Linked DNA regions of Homo sapiens: regions 2 and 3 are each linked to region 1. Evidence: promoter capture Hi-C in human tissues and cell types (Jung and others, 2019). All regions are on one chromosome and are shown on one strand. The core of a region is centred on a gene start or on the middle of the fragment in contact, and the rest is flanking DNA. Distances in the headings are between cores, read along the strand shown. Region 1 holds the start of HOXA5 (homeobox A5). Region 2 has its middle 11 kb from the start of SKAP2. Region 3 has its middle 21 kb from the start of LINC02860.

Region 1 (4,182 bases), core at 1,681-4,180:
TGGGTTTTTTCTCCTTTTTTCTTGCTCTTTCTCTCTTTTTTGTACCCAGCAAGTTAACTTGGTTTCCTCAGAGATGGACAGGGTGTTCTGGGGCTTTGGAACAGCCTACAGCTTTTTCCACCTTCTGCCCTGAACTTTGCAATGGGTCAGAGGTAGGGAAGCGATGGGACAGTGTTGGTATGAGGTCTCCCTGCACAGGTCATCTGCTCAGGTAGCCTCAGACCCAACAGCTTCCAAGACTGCACAGACAGACAGAAAAGCAGACAGAGCCGCTCACTATTTGGCACAAACCAGACCAAGAGAACTTACAATAGAAAGTTTATTTTTTGTTCCAGTCAGTATTTTTTCCTTAAAAACAAATACAAAAAAAAAAAAAAAAAAAAAAAAGCTGATCACAGTTTGCTTAAAACAGCCAGACTTGGACAATATTTGTAACTTTGTTCACAAAAACATACATCACTGAAGCTGCGCTTATAAGAGCCACTTCCAGAGTTCGTGCAAAGGGTCCTATAAAGGCACGCAGGGACACACCGCTTGGAGTCACAGTTTTCATCACAGAGTCACTAGTCACTACACGTCGAACAAGTTGTGTCTCATCAAGTCACCTCTACAACAGCATTAATTACACAAGGAATATAGGTAGTTTGAATAAAAATATCTTTAACAGCTTGGAGCTATTGAGACAGGAACACTTCCACGCACATGCACAGTTAAACAACTTGAGTGCAACACACAACATTGGCACTAAACGAGATTGAAGGGGGACTTTTTGTGTGTTTTTTTTTCTCTTTTCTTTTTTTGTTATAGTTACTTCAAGTAACACAGCTTGCTTCATATAAATAAGTTAAAACATCTATTTTTTTTCAAGACAAAGCCATTCAGGACAAAGAGATGAACAGAAAGCAGATCTACTTATACAGGCGCTATAATGGCAATAAACAGGCTCATGATTAAAAGATGAATTAGGGCAACGAGAACAGGGCTTCTTCACAGAAGGAACACAAGGGAGTTTCAGAAAGTCACCTTAGTACTGACACTACGCGGGATCCGCTAATACTGCTCAGTACTTTAAACGCTCAGATACTCAGGGACGGAAGGCCCCTCCTGCCGCGGCCATGCTCATGCTTTTCAGCTTATTATCTTTTTTCCACTTCATTCTCCGGTTTTGGAACCAGATTTTAATTTGTCTCTCGGAGAGGCAAAGAGCATGTGCTATTTCAATCCTCCTTCTGCGGGTCAGGTAACGGTTGAAGTGGAACTCCTTCTCCAGCTCCAGGGTCTGGTAGCGCGTGTAGGCCGTCCGGGCCCTTTTGCCTTCCGGGCCGCCTATGTTGTCTGCAATAGAAAAGTCAGCGGTTTAGCCACCAACTCCTGTCTTCCAAAGTCCGCCAGGGGGACAAGCTTGGGTCATGAGCAGGGAACCCAGGCGAAAAGCTCAACAAGTTCTGCCTACCAGCCCGCACACCCCTCCCGAATTTCCTTCTCTCTTCCTTTCTAGAAAGAAAACAATACGATTTGGACCCTGGGAACAATCTGCCCATCTGAGGCTGGGGCCGTGTCCCGGCGGACTCCGGCTTTCCCTGGCCCCTCTCCTGCCCCCTCCGCCCTGCCCCGGGCGCCCCGATCGGGAGGCACAGCCCTCCCAGGCTGCCCACCGCACAGAAACCCAGGAAGCAAGGCCCTTTCCTGAGCGCCCAAGTGGCCTTCGGGTCACCCTCCCTCAAAGTTCCAGCCCCGAGAGCCGCCTCCCGTTTCCAGCCTGCAGGGTTGGGGAGCCTGTTTTCTTTTTCTTCCCTTTCCTTCTCTCTCCCTCCTGCCCCCAAAATTCAGAATCCTGCAGGCTCTCGCCTCGATTCTTTCCCCCAAGCCCCTTTTCGGGGGCTGTAATTAGTAACGCTGTTTCCCCAGCGTAGCCCTCCTCATAAATTATCCGCCGTGACAAGCCCGATTCACGGCTGCTACAGCCATCCTCTACCTCTCTGCGCCTTGCTCGGCTGGCCTGACCCGGGAGCGCGTCCCAAGGCGTGGGGTTCCAGAGGGGTTTTTTGCTTCCTCCCCCTTCCAACGTCTAAACTGTCCCAGAGAACGCCCATTTCCCCCACTATTTGTGAGCGCAGGGTGCTCGCAAAGAAGAGGAGGAAGGAGGAAGGCAGGGGAGGGAGAACGGCAAGGAGAGCTCCGCAGGGCTGGGAGAAATGAGACCAAGAGAGACTGGGAGAGGGCGGCAGAGAAGAGAGGGGGGACCGAGAGCCGCGTCCCCGCGGTCGCGTGGATTTAGAAAAAGGCTGGCTTTACCATGACTTATGTGCAGCTTGCGCATCCAGGGGTAGATCTGGGGTTGGGCGGGCGGCGCCGGGCTCGGCTCGCTCTGCGCACTCGCCTGCTCGCTGCTGGCAGGGGCGTCCTCCTCGGCTCCGGACGCCGTGCCAACCCCCTCTCTGCTGCTGATGTGGGTGCTGCCGGCGTCGGCCGAGGCGCCGCTGGAGTTGCTTAGGGAGTTTTTCCCGCCGTGGTGGCTGTCGCTGCCGGGCGAGGGGGCCACGGCGGAGCAGGGCAGCGGATCGGGCTGAGGAGAGTGCGTGGACGTGGCCGGCTGGCTGTACCTGGGCTCGGCGGGCGCCGCGCTGGCGCTGGCAGCGTAGCTGCGGGCGCGCTCTCCGGAGCCAAAGTGGCCGGAGCCCGAGCGGCCGACGCTGAGATCCATGCCATTGTAGCCGTAGCCGTACCTGCCGGAGTGCATGCTCGCCGAGTCCCTGAATTGCTCGCTCACGGAACTATGATCTCCATAATTATGCAACTGGTAGTCCGGGCCATTTGGATAGCGACCGCAAAATGAGTTTACAAAATAAGAGCTCATTTGTTTTTTGATATGTGTGCTTGATTTGTGGCTCGCGGTCGTTTGTGCGTCTATAGCACCCTTGCACAATTTATGATGAATTATGGAAATGACTGGGACATGTACTTGGTTCCCTCCTACGTAGGCACCCAAATATGGGGTACGACTTCGAATCACGTGCTTTTGTTGTCCAGTCGTAAATCCTGCCTGATGACCTCTAGAGGTAAACTCGTGCACTAATAGGGGAGTTGGGTGGAGGCGAGGGGGGTGGCGCGCGCGCCCCGGGCGCGTGCCCGCCGCCAGTTGCCGCCGTTCAGCCGGACTCGAGCGCCACCCGCTGGAGGCAGGGCTCATCGCCCAGCTTCCGACCGGGGGCTGCAAGGGCCGGGGTCGAATTGAGGTTACAGCCCATTATGGCAAAATTATTGCATTTCCCTCGCAGTTCCATTAGGATGTACCAATTGTTAGGCCGTCAGCTGCCGATCGCGCGCCCGGCGAGGATGCAGAGGATTGGGGGGAGGTGGTGACTTGCATTTTATTTACAACAACTTTATTTCCCCCGTTTTGCAGCCCCTCTTATTTTTGTGTCGAGGTTGGGGTCGGTACTGACCGTCCTGCCAGCAGCTCTGAATTTTGAAAATACAGATATCACCTTCGGGGAAGGGGGAAAGCCATTTAGCCAATTGGAGAAATAAATCCTGCCCGCAGCAGCAGCAGCTACAATTACGGCTCTGTTTTTGCGAGCGCATGAGGGACAGTGTCCCTGCCGCTCTTAAATGACAGGCGTCTATTAAAGATAGCTTTTGTGTAGTGTTTCTCCAAGGCGAGGTCAAATTCCATACACTTTTATAACCGTAGTCGATTTTTCTTTCGTGTGAATATGGTTTTCGTGTCATTAGTTTGCGATTTGATTTGCTTACGTATCCAGCCTGGAAAATCTTCATCACAGGGTCCGGTTCCTCGAGCCAGCCGGGCCCCAAGTCGGAGGGTTCTCCTTGAACCCAGCGAGTGGGCCCAGGCTCCCTGCAGCCACAGAGGCTGCCTGGGGTCTGGGGATCCGTGGGGCGGGTTACTGGGGTCTTGCTTAGACCTCCAGGAGTAAAATGAGGGCGATAATGGAAGCATTCCTTGGCAGTGCCTAGTATCTCTGTAGTTATTTTCCACGGCTCCGAAAGACTCAAGTAAATCACAAATATAGCTGAGAGGCAAGTGGAGTCTCCCCGCTGGAGGCCCGGCGTTGCAGGCGCCCCTGGCACGTCTGGAAGCCAGGACTCTGGCGGCTCCCATGGCCCTGGGCCCCTCGTTGGGTCCTGAACGCTGCTGTGGCGGCGACGCGGGCGCTATCG
Region 2 (4,020 bases), core at 222-2,721, 270 kb before region 1:
GAGTTTGAGACCAGCCTGACCAATATGCTGAAACCCCGTTTCTATTAAAAATACAAAAATTAGCCAGGCATGGTGGCATGCACCCGTAGTCCCAGCTACTTGGGAGGCTGAGACAGGAGAATTGCTTGAACCTGGGAGGCAGAGGTTGCAGTGAGCTGACATCATGCCACTGCACTCCAGCCTGGGTGACAGAGTAAAACTCCATCTCAAAAATAAATAAATAAACTAATAAAATAAATTAAGCAATTGAAATTGCATTTACTTTGCAGCCTAATCCATCTAAACAAAATGCAAAACCTGTTGGCTCTAAAGTTATCTTGTAAGGGCTCTTTTAAGAATTTTTAGAAATAAAGATTTGTTTTCATTTTCTAAGTTATTATCCTTGTTTTCATTTGAAACTTCCATGTTTAGTTGGTATAAGTTTATCATTGTGTGGCAGTCAACAAGAAAAAATATTCTCACTGGAATTCATATGAAGTCATTTACTCTGAAAAGATGTGACATACAACCCAACCAGAACCAAAGGTACTGATAGATGCAGTTCACAATTTGAGTTTTTAGTTCATAATTGTTATTAATCTTATTAGTATAATTTACTAAGTTAGCAAGATTTGCTGTCCATCTCATTCCCATACACACAAACATACACAGTCATGCATCGCTTAACAACAGGGACACATTCTGAGAAATGCGTCATTAGGTGATTTTGTCATTGTGTATGTCTGTGTCATCATAGAGTGTATTTACACAAACCTAGATCTATAGCCTGCTACACATCTAGCTAGATGGTATAGCTTATTGCTCCTAGGCTATAAACCTGCACAGCATATTAATGTACTGAATACTATGGGCATTGTAACACAATGGTATTTGTGTATCTAAACATAGAAAAGGTACAGTCAAAATACAGTATTATAATCTTATGGGACCATTGTCATATACGTGGTCCATCATTGACCAGCGTCATTATGTGGCACATGACTGTACTCAGGCACTTTGCTGCCCTGGTCAATCATTTTAAGAATAAGCAATTTAATATGAACTAGAGTTGAGTAATTAACATAATGCTGTACGTCTTTAGGGTTCTACAAATTAGGAATAAGGTGAGAGAACTATCCATCCCATTCCAGACTTGTCAGAGGCTACCTGGTTCCCTGCCCAGGTAGCAGCCCTCTTCTCCCTTTAACTGAATTGATTTCCTTTATCTAAGATTCTCAGTGCTCAGGGACCTAACCATCAGAAGGGTCAGCTTTCGTGATAATCTGGCTCTGATCTTACATCCTAGCTCTAGTAACTGAGTTTCTCCTGCCTGGTTCGGAGACAAAGTCCTTACTGTACTTATTTTTAATAAAGAGACATATTTGTCTTTATTACATCTAGGCCTCTTGGACTCTGGCTCTGCCTTACTCTTAGTCTTAATTTATAGGCTGCTGTTATATTCCACCTGGATCTCCAGAGAAGAGATGGGCCCAAATCCCATTCTTGCCTTCTATTACTTATCAGGCTTAGTCCCCAAGGTGTATGTGCACTAGGAACATGCCAAGAAAATTCTCATTCTTCATTACTACCTAAAATTTAATGCAGAATCCCTTCTCTTCATGTGAATTGTTTTACTACTCCTCGATGGTTTGATGAAGTTACCTTGAACTGTGAGCAGGTACATTAAAAGATAAAAACTTTTGATTCTCTCCCTTTAATTCTTATCACCAAAATCTCTACTTTCTGCCTCAGAGGCCCAATTGAGTGATCCTAAATATATCATTTTTATTCTTGGTTCATAACAGAGTCAGGGAAAGTTGTCCTTGAGCTTTCCTAAGGGGGAAAATGCAGGGCCACTGATACAAGTTAATTTTCCCCAATCCACCCTATTGCTAAAGATGACTCTTCCTGCACTCCTTGAAATTTTACCAATTAGAGAGAGAGTGGATGGGTAACTATCTTCCTTTGTACTTTGATCTAGGTTGGTTTGAGAAATCATGTTTAATGATTTAGTACCTGGATTTAATGGTTTAATACCTAGGTTAAGCATATTATGGCTTTGGATGAAAGATAATTGAGACAGTATTTTGGAATTTAAAACATTATAAAGGAAAGCAGGCTGCATCAGCCTTCCAAATAATGGTTTCAAGACTAGCAGTGTAAAGCAAGCAAGATGTTCATGGTCATATGTTATGCTGTGTGCCCTGCTCTCTCTTTAGGATAGCACTGATCCCCACAAAATCCTTATCAACATTTAATGAAAAGACAGTCTCCTAGAAGAATGAAACTGAAGAACATAGCTGCCTTACTAATTAAACTTTGGCAGATTCGCACTTGGCCTCTGAATCATAATTTATTCTATATGAACTATTTACTGAATTGTTGTACCATTGCCCATATGAATTATTTTGTTATAGGAATTTTGTTTTTGTTATTGTAGCTATTTAAACAACATTAATTTAGATGAAACATGATTTTCTAAATATACTCCTATAAATCATTTTATAGCTAAACAATAAAAACTACCCCCATTTGCAGTGAGCCAAGCTTGTGCCACTGCACTCCAGCCTGGGCAACAGAGCAAGAATCCGTCTTGGAAAAAAAAAAAAAACTAGGTTGGCAAAGATTCCAGAACATTAAATAATTAAAAACAGGTCTGGATTTCTTTCTATATGTAAAGACAAAATAGTAAATTGTAACCAGAGTCCTTCCTATTATTATAGTACATCTATTCTCACTAGGCAATTTTAAAATACCAAGCTGTCTTCAGCAATAGTAATTCGGCGGGTTTGTGCTTAATATATTCATGAAGGGGTTTGATGGATTTGATAACCATAAGCAGCTGTTAACATTAAATTGCCATTTAATTTTTTTCAGTGACTTTCAAAGTTGTCAATATTAAACAGTAGTGTCTTACAAATGACTAAGACCAATATGAGTATGATTAAATAAGATTTATACTGGTCACGGTGGCTCATGCCTGTAATCCCAGCACTTTGGGAGGCTGAGGCGGGCAGATCACTTGAGGTCAGGAGTTCGAGACCAGTCTAGCCAACATGGCAAAACCCCGTCTCTGCTAAAAATACAAACATTTGCTGGGCATGGTGGCACATGCCTGTAATCGCAGCTACTTGGGAGACTGAGGCATGAGAATTGCTTGAACCTGGGAGGTGGAGGTTGCAATGAACCAAGATTGCGCCACTGCACACCAGCCTGGGCAACAGAGCAAGACTCTGTCTCAAAAAAAAAAAAAAAAAAGATTTAAACGGCACTCAAAATTCTCCCTTTTTCTATAGTGTCCAACTACTAGGCAAAAGAAAAACACACACATGCATATGCACATTTTTATAGGACTTTAAGTACTGTCTTGTATATCTGCTCACAATTTGCATGGCATATTACAATACTTAGAAATTATTCCACCCCTACCCCCATTTCAACCCCATTTAATTTTTATACTTTTTCCCTATATTCATCCATCAAATCCATGTTTAATTTAATTTCATAATACTAAACAATTTTTTACCCTCATCCCTAATAGCATAATTTTAAGATACTTTTATTGAAATAATTCAGATATCAACTCTTCCCCTTTCAGTTCTTCTTTGTTTAATGACTACTTTAGTGTGGTTTTATGTACTGAAATTTGGTAAACAAAGAAAGTCAGCATTGTTGACATCTCCCAGTCTTTACAATTTGTGGGCTGCCACAGACATGTCTATGGGACAAGAGATGACATCAAGAATTATGTAATTTATCATTGATGTGCTTTGCTGTCCTTCAGTCCATTTGTTCAACATTCTAAAGACACATTGCAGTGTAATGAGAAACTAGCTTCCTCCTTGTTTTAGTTCTTTGCTTTGACCCTAAAACCATGTTATCACTTCAAATATGATGCCTCCCCCAGGAACCCATATATATGAGAAAAAAATCACAGACAATTCCAATTCCTCTCCAGCCAGCTTGCTTTATATTTCTATAAGCATTTGCTTTTACTTTTTAAATAGCTACCTTATTTTTTTCAGAGGTAAAAAATTATTT
Region 3 (4,342 bases), core at 203-2,702, 490 kb before region 1:
CAAACGGTCTGAATAATAATAATAATCATAAAGAAATACCTGGTAACTATAAATCTCATCAACCAATGTAAAAGAACATTCTAAATCTATTAATATTTTCAAAGACATTATCTTTCTGCCACCCCACTGCTTTGTGACTTGTTGTATCAGCTATATTATTTGCCTTAAAGCACCATCTAAGTGTTTTTCTTCCCCTGTGAGGGGAATCTTCCACAGCCTTCGCAAGCTACAGCCCACTGCTCCCCTGCAGGAGGACTGGGGTATCATTAACAACCAAAGACACTTAAGGCACAAGTTGGAACTCCAGTGTTTCCAAACCTTCCTGCTTCCCATCAAAATTCATATCCTGTCACTGTTCTAGGAGCAGAAAGGCTTCTCATTATAGCATCATTCCCCTCTTGCAAAAAACACTGATTGCTGCACTGGTGGCTTTGGAAGGCAAAGATGTAATTTAGCAAAATAATGTACCATGCTGATTAATTTAATGTAGCCCATGACTAATTATGGTAATTCATTACATCTACAATTAGGCTAAGTAATTTATTGCACTGCAGTCTCATAAAGCAGAGGATTTATATCGAGTTTTGAATGTCACCCAAAGGACATTTCTGTACCTTGTCTTTACTGAAGCGGAATAAGGCTGCCAGCTGAGATGAGCCAAAGAAAAAAAAAATCCCCGCCCCCCCCGCCCCAACTTACGCACTGACACACACTTTGCCATTTTTGATGTTTGTATTTTGCAATTGAATTCAAGTGCAAGGAGAGTTTTTCCTGATCTCCTCTTTCTTTCTCCTCCTCAGACTGTGCCTTTGTCATGATTTGGTGTTGTTTTTGTTTGTATGCTGCATACCAATTTCCTCTCTGTAAGCTCTGGAGACCTGACACAGGAAAGTGAACAATATATAAGAAGCTATTGCGGTCTTCCCAAATATTATTTGTAGGCATTTGGCGGTGATCAGAGAAAACGGGTAATTGTGCTACTGAGGTCTGTTGCTTATTCTGCAGATAGTACTGCAGTCGACTTCAACAAAGACCTCATCTTCTCTTTGCCGCATGAAAAGGGGACATATCCCCTCACTTAGGAAAGACGCAAACATAGCATTATTTTGAAATACAGCCTCGCTTGTACCCTGCAGCGGGGTTTGCTCTAGCGATGGGGTACTTTGGAGACCAATTTGTTTAGCTGATCACTGTCTCTTTGACGTGGCTGCAAATGTTACCTTTCTTTTTCAATCAAAAACACAGCAGGGGGTGCCATCTGTTTGGCACAGGCCTTAGCTCACTTCCCCAATGCCTTTTTGTGCAGATCATTTTACGTGGCAATTTGCTAAAATCTTTCATTCCTTGGTTTTACTAAATATAAGTTTCCAAAATGGGCTGTTTTCTCAGAATGTCAGCAAGACTCACAAATGAATGCAGTTTTTCCTGAACAGCCAGTATCAGATCAAATGGAGCATTTTTCAGATTTTTTTTTTAATGAACAAATACCTCACTGTCATCTGATTGTTTACTTAAAACTGACATGTTTACTGAGGATGGTGAAAACACATTTATCCTACTGAATTTCACTTCGTTTTCTTTGTTTGGCTTCTACAGAGGTGCACTGTCACCAACACAGGCATCACAATTTTTAAGATCCTTGAAGAGAATAGGTAATGCAAATGCATAGAGCAACCATATTAAATAGTCATTAGGAAACAACAGCTAGCAAGAAAGTGGTTAACTATTTTCCCCAGCTCAGATGCTGTTCAAAGCAATGAATACCCACCCCCCACCCCCCCACCAACTCCAAGTAGGAACAGATGATCAGCACCACGTGCTGAAGCCACAGGGATGCCCGTGGATTTCCAAGTGCTTTGTAGAATACAAATGAATTATCCTCATTCTTCTCCTAGCAGAGCATATAGGCCAGACCTCATTAGAATTCAATATCACTCTGCTTTTCTAATGTTAATGTACCAGTTATATAAGAAATACGTGTGTTGGTGGGGCGGGGGCTTATTCCACAATTATGTTCGACGTGATATCATAATTCTGAAAACTGGACATAATCTTTATTAAAGGAAATTATTGCATTTTGCCGTTTTATCTTTTGCTTCTAATGTAACTTAAATTCCCATTCTAATAGTGGATTATAAGGGCCTTAATTCTTTGTGTCTCTCTTAAAGCTGCAGTGACTACAATACTACTGGCTTTATGGCTTTTTAAAAAATGCCGTGACTAAAGATCAGATTGTGAGGGCTCCATGTCCATCTCACTGTGAAAGGAACACAGCACATTACATTAATAAACAACTGTAGGAGTTTTCTTCATCCAGGAATAACTCAGGGCATTAAGGCTTGAGGTCTTTTGTCTAGAGTGCAGCAAGAGGTGTAATGAAAACAAAAACACCAACACATAAAAATACAATTTATGCCCTTTTATCAAGTGAAGAAAAAGTTGGTTAACGTTTGAAAAGGGAGCAGTAATGTAAATTTATTGACAATTTTATTGTAATAATGAGATGTTTACACAGTCTGGACATTGTGGCTAAATCACTTCTAGCATGTTTATTTGCAGGGAGCTGTTTTCTGGGCAATGCGGCAGGTTCATTAAGAAGACATACAGTATTAGGATTCAAAGAAACAACCAGCTCCCATTCTCCCCTTCCCAGTTATATGTGTGTGTGTATAGTTTTAAATATATATATACTTATAAATAATGAAGTAAAATACAGAATTCCCTTCATAAGAAAAACAACTTCCCCTGTGGCCCCAAAATAGCTTGAAAATAAATGTCGTATTGGTATCTTAATACATAGCATTAGAAAGACAACCTTTAATCACTATAACTAGCTTTTAATACCTAATGTGTAAATGGTAATCTGTTTTTGACTAAGAATAAATTATGGCAGAGTTTAGGGCGGCTCTTGCTTTACCCTTTTCTTCAAAAAACAAAAAAACCCATGGTAATTGTTTTAGATGAGATGCTTCTCTTCTCAACATTTTTTTAAGAGAAAAAACTCATTCAGAGAGAAATATTTCTCTTAAGCAGCCTCAAACCAGATTAATGGATTAAAATGGCACACTTGAATAATGTGACTAAATTTATCTCTATGTGGCTCTTTCATTTTTTGTGTGTTTCTATACTAATCTTTAATATGCTGCTCTGATATGGTTTTCATGTTTCCAAACTGAGCTAAAATGAAAATGACAGATTTTCAGTTATGCAAAAATAGCAATGAAGTGTCAGTAGAAATACATTGTGAACAACATAATTTTTAGGAAAGATGTGAAATGAGAATAATCTTCTAGCATGAAACGGGTCCAATAACAAAATATTCAGGCAATTATATCAATTTTTAAAATTTCAAAACTGTTTAAAAATTAAGGCACTAAATGCTAAGCTACAATATGTTTCCAGCCTCAGTATACATCCATTAAAATTAAGTAGTATCAATACAGAGTATTTATTGCTATAGATCATAGCTTTAGGAGAAGCAAAGGATGGTATACTTATAGCTTGAAATTCTCTACTATAATCACTTAGGAAAAGTTTAGAAAACAGACTTATCTTTAATCACAGTTGCCACAATTTAGTATAGTCCCATTGTTTTCCTTTATCAAAGAGTATGTAATGATAATAATATAAACACATTATAAAAGTAATAGTTTCCCAGCTTAAACTGGTAAGGTTAAGATGGTAAGAGAAACTTTGATTTTAGAAACCAGTGGTAACAGGTACACAATGTGTCTATTTTTTAAGCTGATAGAATTGATTAATGGTTCAAAATAATCAAGGAATCACATCACAAAGCACCGTTTTAAAGAGAAGTGCTAAGAATTAACTCTATACTACCATGACATCATCCGATGTTACCAGAATTATGTACTACATCACGCTATAGATTACAATTGCTAGACTAGAAAATGGAATCTTCAGCGACTCTGCATAACAAATATACTTAATAATCTTAAATAAACTCAAACTTACTTTGATATCTTCTAAGTAATTCACATGAAAAATGAATTTTTAAAAAATCAGTTCATGAAAGCCATTATTATTTGAAGGAATATGCTCAATTTTTTAGATAATTTAAATTATTTAAGAGTCCTTTGCATCTTTTATTAGCTTTGCCTAAAGTTATAACATTAAAGCATTAAGGTTACATGTAACGAGGTTCTGGTTTGCCCTCATTTCTAGCCCCATATTTTCACAAACTACAAACCAAGATTAGTGCTATATTACAAGGCTAATTAGAGAAAATAAAATTGTGTCACTCCTAGATATGCATCTGATGTTTTTTAACTAGAAAGTGTGTATTCACACACAAACATTCATAGATAGACATCTGGAAGAAACA

The links. The method cuts DNA at HindIII sites, captures the fragments that hold promoters and counts their contacts. A contact is called where the count stands out against the background at its distance.
Region 2: a contact is called between a fragment that was not itself captured here and the fragment with the promoter of HOXA5 in region 1, in 1 of the 25 tissues and cell types used here (aorta).
Region 3: a contact is called between a fragment that was not itself captured here and the fragment with the promoter of HOXA5 in region 1, in 2 of the 25 tissues and cell types used here (dorsolateral prefrontal cortex and spleen).

Annotation. Positions count from the first base shown.
Region 1 is chr7:27,140,751-27,144,932 of GRCh38, forward strand. HOXA5 (homeobox A5) reads right to left here and starts at 2,931. Exons shown (of 2, transcript NM_019102.4): 1 at 2,296-2,931; 2 at 302-1,335. The coding sequence starts at 2,857. The coding sequence ends at 1,085. The region is part of intron 1 of HOXA3 (homeobox A3); the gene reads right to left. The region is part of intron 1 of HOXA-AS3 (HOXA cluster antisense RNA 3); the gene reads left to right. The HindIII fragment of the contact is 16,485 bases long and covers 1-4,182 here.
Region 2 is chr7:26,873,404-26,877,423 of GRCh38, forward strand. No RefSeq gene overlaps it. Among named protein-coding and RNA genes, the nearest start is that of SKAP2, 11 kb to the left of the region's middle. The HindIII fragment of the contact is 6,993 bases long and covers 1-4,020 here.
Region 3 is chr7:26,657,057-26,661,398 of GRCh38, forward strand. It overlaps a transcript of SKAP2 not described here. Among named protein-coding and RNA genes, the nearest start is that of LINC02860, 21 kb to the left of the region's middle. The HindIII fragment of the contact is 9,906 bases long and covers 1-4,342 here.